Regions from separate parts of the Homo sapiens genome. Here region 1 is linked to region 2. Evidence: promoter capture Hi-C in 16 types of primary human blood cells and fetal thymus (Javierre and others, 2016). All regions are on one chromosome and are shown on one strand. The core of a region is centred on a gene start or on the middle of the fragment in contact, and the rest is flanking DNA. Distances in the headings are between cores, read along the strand shown. Region 1 has its middle 1.9 kb from the start of SDS. Region 2 holds the start of WSB2 (WD repeat and SOCS box containing 2).

Evidence for each region. The method cuts DNA at HindIII sites, captures the fragments that hold promoters and counts their contacts. A CHiCAGO score of 5 or more calls a contact.
Region 1: a fragment that was not itself captured here is called in contact with the fragment with the promoter of WSB2 in region 2 in 1 of 17 cell types (M0 macrophages); the score reaches 5.7 in M0 macrophages.

Annotation. Positions count from the first base shown.
Region 1 is chr12:113,404,382-113,407,141 of GRCh38, forward strand. No RefSeq gene overlaps it. Among named protein-coding and RNA genes, the nearest start is that of SDS, 1.9 kb to the left of the region's middle. The HindIII fragment of the contact is 773 bases long and covers 909-1,681 here.
Region 2 is chr12:118,059,810-118,062,509 of GRCh38, forward strand. WSB2 (WD repeat and SOCS box containing 2) reads right to left here and starts at 1,370. Exons shown (of 9, transcript NM_018639.5): 1 at 1,227-1,370. The coding sequence starts at 1,239. It overlaps LOC124903030 (a long non-coding RNA gene), which reads left to right and starts at 1,651. Exons shown (of 2, transcript XR_007063479.1): 1 at 1,651-1,871. RefSeq lists a silencer at 780-829. The HindIII fragment of the contact is 4,146 bases long and covers 174-2,700 here.

The DNA.
Region 1 (2,760 bases), core at 45-2,544, 4.7 Mb before region 2:
GTGTGGTGGCACGTGCCTGTAATCCTAGCTACTCAGGAGGCTGAGGCACAAGAATTGCTTGAACCTGGGAGGCAGAGGTTACAGTGAGACTAGATCTCGCCACTGCACTCCAGCCTTCACAACAGAAAGAAAAAAAAAAGTTAAATATCTCCACAGGTCGCTACTCTATGTTCACCTTATCTTATGTAAAGTGCCGATTTATTGAGATCAAGACAAATACATAATTGGCTACTTCCCTATCTGCCCCTCTTCTCTTACAAACTGTGGATTTGGTAATGTGGCCATAGCCTCCTTCTTTCCCCTCCAGCTTGCTTTTCTCCTTTAAATACTGACACCTAAAGTCATCTCTGGAGAAAAGCACAGACCTGTCTCCCAGGTGCATTCTTAACCCTGGCGAAATAAATTTCTAAATGGATTGAGTCCTGTCTCAATCTTTTTGATTCTTTTTGATTTACAGATTGGAGACTCATGAAAGGGACCCTGGGTGGAGGTGGCCCTGACCTTTGACAAGTCTCCTACTGGTGCTTGGTGGGTCTTGCTCTGTCACCCTGGCTGGAGTGCAATGGCATGATCTTGGCTCACTGCAACCTCCATCTCCTGGGTTCAAGCGATGCTCCTGTTTCAACCCCCCAAATAACTGGGAGTATAGGCATGTGCCACCACACTCAGCTAATTTTTTGTATTTTTAGTAGAGATGGGGTTTCACCATGTTAGCCAGGCTGGTCTTGAAGTCCTGACCTCAAGTGATCCACCCGCCTCAGTCTCCTAGAGTGCTGGGATTACAGGCGTGAGCCACCATGCCGGCCTTGAGCGATCTTGATTGCCCTCCAAAATAGGACAGTTTGCTGAGGCCTGGGAGCTCCCCACCTCCAGAGAACTCCTGATCTCCCACAATTGGTTGATATCTAAGCTTGATTTCCCTGAACAGCTCCTTTTCTGCGTTTTACTCACTTCCAACAAGGAAGGTGAGTTTTCTGGCTTCCATGATGATGGCAAGCAGGCAGCTCCTTTCTGGAGTTTCGCTTGTGTCCGGCAGGGAAGGCAAGTTTGAGATTTCCCCGCTTCTAGGATGGTAGAGAGCGGTCTTCAGCCTGGGCCCCATGACTAGAAGTTAGGGTTAACAACCAGCTGGTCTTAATTTCTCCCTACTTTTAGAGCGTGCAGTAATCGTATAAATTGCTTGATTGTTTGTTTCCCTTGCTTAACTGTTTTTGTTTCTGTTGTTGTTTTGTTGCTTCTGTCTTTTCCCCATTGGACTGGACCAACTCCATTTGACTTGGTCAAATCTGAAGGAAAGTTTCATATTATGGCGAACAAGGTCTCATGAATTGGCTAAATACCCACAGCTGGAAAAAAAAAAAAAGGAAAAAGAAAAAACAGCCAGCAAAAGAAAAAAGAGAGAGAGAGACAAGGATTTTGATTACCTGAGGGGCATTATTTACATAACAAGGCCATCTTTTGCTAGCCAAGCCAAACTGAAAGAGGCTACATGGCTGTCACCTCACGCTAGTTCAGTAGCTAAGATTCTGTTCCTTTTTCACCACCGTGGCCTGGGCTTGGTTCCTAAATCAAGTCCTTTCTGGTTTGATGTTTGTGTTACTTTTGAAATATTAGCAGTTTGTCCCAGCTAAAATATGGTGATGAGATTTAAAAGGATTTTTTAAAGAGCTCAATGGTTAAAAGCTTAATTAAAGGCGAATATCTAAGATGTGTGTGTGTGTGTGTGTGTGTGTGTATTTATTTATTTATTTATTCATAGGGCCTTAATGCATTTTTTTCTCTCTTAGGATCTGTTTTTTTTTTGAGATGGAGTCTTACTCTGTCGTCCAGGCTAGAGTGCAGTGGCATGATCTCAGCTCACTGCAACCTCCACTCCCTGGGTTCAAGTGGTTCTCCTGCCTCAGCCTCCCAAGTGGCTGGGATTACAGGCGCACACCACCACACTGGGCTATTGTTTTTGTATTTTTAGTAGAGACAGGATTTCACCATGTTGGCCAGGCGGGTCTTGAACTCCTGGCCTCAAGTTATTCACCGGCCTTAGGCTCCCACAGTGCTGGGATTACAGGTGAGAGCCGCCCCACTTGGCCAGGATCTTGTTTTTTGAGAAAAAGTTTTCTTTTTTCTTCTCAGTTGACTGATTTCTGTTTTTTCCAATTTACTTCTGCCTGTCTCCTTTCTCTTGCCACCCTCTACAGCTCAAGGAACCTAAAATAATTTCTAACAGCTTGGGACTCCCTTAAGGAAAACAGAGAAAGTGCCAGACTCCTTTTTGGGGAGAAACCTCTGTTTTTCCATAACCTTATGGAGCCCTAAGAATATAAACAGATAAGTTCCTCTCAGATCTTCAACTGCTTGCTTTTGTTGTGTGTTACCTGACTTCTTTTTTGACTAAAATCTTTATTACAACAGGGGCTACTCTTGAATGTTTAAAACAGGAGAGGGTCTGGATGTGTGGGCCTAGTTATATATAAAAAAATTTTTTTTAAAGATAAGAGAGAGTATGGTTTAGACCCTTAGAGAAATGTCTTTGCAACAAAGTACACTGTAAAAGCATCACACAGCCTAGGTCCACCATATCATTCTCTTTGGAGACCCGGGATTCAGTGTGGGCTCTGTCCAGAGCTCTGAGTTCCAGTTAAAAGATAGAAACTAAATGTAAAACTACCTATCTAAATAAAATATATTTATTTGATAGATTTCTATAACTTAATGTTTGATTTGATTTGCTTTTTTTTTTTTTTTTGAGACTCTGTTGCTCAG
Region 2 (2,700 bases), core at 120-2,619:
ATCTAGATGGGAAGGAGAGAGAGCTGCCTTTAACTCAATGCCTGACTTCAGCAAACAAAGAAATGTCATTTCCTAAATTAAAAAGTAACACCACCCCAGGGAATACCCAGATTTCAACCTTCCCACCCACAGTAACAAGCCATCAGCAATCAGAACCCTCCAGACCAGGATGAAGCTTGAACTTGGCTGCAAGATTACCATGAAGTTCTGGAACAAATTCTGAGCCCTAGGCCTTGAACCTGCTCTGAAAATTTCTCCTAAGGAAATTACATTTAAACTCGGGTCCTTCAAGACCTGGGACTCCCGGAATCAATTCTAAATCTATCCCAAGTGGGGTTCCGAGGGAAGGTCGTTGGAGGGGAGAGGGCCAAGGCGTGCATGCGTCTTGGGGTTTTTTTCCCCTTGCATAAGAGACACACCTTTCCCACTGAGATTTTATGTTCATCTGGGCTGGCTTGAGGTATATCCAATATCCTCTGACTTCCACGCTGTCTTCTGATGGGGATGGCAGTTAACAAGAATAGAGGCAAGGTCCCCACCCATCAGTGTATCCTAAATTTGCCTGATCATACATGTCACCAGGGATCAGCGTCTCCAGTCCCGCCCCACCTCCACTGACTTAATCTCCAGTGGGAGAGGCTGGGAATAGATTGTTTCAATAGGGAACCCAGACCCCAGACCCCATTTTTACCGGGTCCCAGCCACCCTCCGAGGAAGGTACTAGGATTATCCCATTTTGCAGATCAAAACTGAGACGTGGGTGGCGGTGGTTCAGTGGCTTGTCCACTGTCACGATCACACAGCTTGTGAGGGACAGAGGTGACTCCCATCCAGACATGCAAGTGCGTCCCCTGGCACCTGGGTACCCAGGGGCACCCACCCCCTTGGGGATCTCCGTTTTAGGGCTTGGTGCCCCCCGCCCCGAGTCCCACCCGGGAGCCCCCTCTGTCCCGGTCGGGGGATCTCCTCCCGCAGAAGCCCGATCTTCCCGATCCTGTCGCCGGCGGGAGTCAGGGTGGCGGCCACTGACAACGAAAGTGAAACAAAGCTGGTCGCCGGGCGCGCACCCCCGCCGGCCCCGCGCGGACCTCCCAGGCCGGACGCCCCCGCCGCGTCCAGCCCCCGCCCCACCCCGCCCAGCCCGCCCCGGGGTCGCCTCCCCCCTCCCCGGGGAGAACGGGCCAGGGCCCCGCCGGGCGGGAACGGGCGCGCCCGGCCCCACTCACCTCCGGCCTCCATGGAGGACGCGAGCGGCCCCCGCGGCAGGCGGCGGGCGCCTCAGCCCCCCGGGCCGCGGGCCCTCATGCCGCCCCCGCGCCGCCCGCCCCGGCCAGGCCGCCGCCGCCGCCCGGAGAGGCCATCAGCTGCTTCCCGTCACATGGCGGTGGGCGCGGGCGGAGACGCGCGGGGGCGGGGCGCAGGGGAAACGGAGGGGGGGTGCGGACGGGATAAAAACGGTGGGGGGCAGCTGAGGGAAAAGATGGAAAATCGGGGAGGCGGTACGCTGACGGGATAAAAGCTGAGGGGTTGCTCAGGGGAAACGGGGGCGGGGAAGACGCGCGAACCAGATAAAAATGGGGCAGGGGTGGGGGGAGCTGAGCGGAAACGGGGTGGGGCGCGAACGGGATAAAACCCAGGGGTTGTGCGGGGTCCTGAGGGGAACCAGCGCCGGATAAAAACGGGGAAGGGAGGGAGGTGAACAGAGCTGAGGGAAACCGGGAAAAGGGGAGCGATAGAAACCGGAGTAGGGGAAGCCGGGCTCAGGGGAAAAGGGGGTGTTGGAGAGTGGTAGAGCCGGGCTGAGAGAAAAACCAAGCAGGGGAAGCGGCGATCCGGGGAGAACGGAGAGAGGGAGACCGAGGGCTGTGGGGGTAAGGGGAACCAAAGGGGCTGAAGCGAAATCGAGGGGAGGGGCAGGTGAAAATGGAGCCATGCGAAGGCCGATGAGGGGGGAAACGGGTAAAAATGGGGGCGGGAGAAATAGGTTGGAGGGAATACTGGCCGAGAAGAAACCTGGGGAGAGCTGGGCTTAGGGGAAAATGGGGAGGGGGTGGAAGGAAGGTGTAATAACCGGGTGCTGGGGAGGACGTAAGAATTGGGGGGTGCGGCGAGGGTCAAGGCTAGGGTAAAACAAGGGGGGCTACTCAATGGCTCCGGTAATGGGAGAGGGAAGTGAGGAGAACACGGGGCGGTGGGGAGAGGAGGGCAGGGTGAAAACCGGAGTGGGGGTGGGAACGAGATAAAAAACGGGGCAGGAGCGATTCGGAAGAAGACTGTCCCCTTACCTACCTACGGCGACAGCCTCGCCTGTCCCCGTCCCCCTGAGAAACCTGCTCTCCCTGTCTACCCGCATAGCCTCAAGAAATGGCTCGCTTGGGTCAGACGCCCCCTTTTTAACATTCCAGGGCCAGGGCAGGAGTCATCATGGAGGCTTTTCATGCCTGAAAGACCCCATTTCTTAGTTGTCCGGTCCCCAGTAGTATCAGTGGCTTGGGGATTTCTTACTGAGCTCAGCTCATTGTCCCCAAAATGCCTCCCCTTACCCCCAACTCGAGCGCTTCCCTTTCCTGCTTTGGGCCCAAGCTCTTCCCGCGGTTCTTGGTGTCAGCTTCATTCAAGTCACTCTCCCGCCTCTCATTCCTTTCTCCCCGCCTTTCTTCGCTTCCCTCCAAGTGCCCTCTCCATTTGCCGGTCACTGGT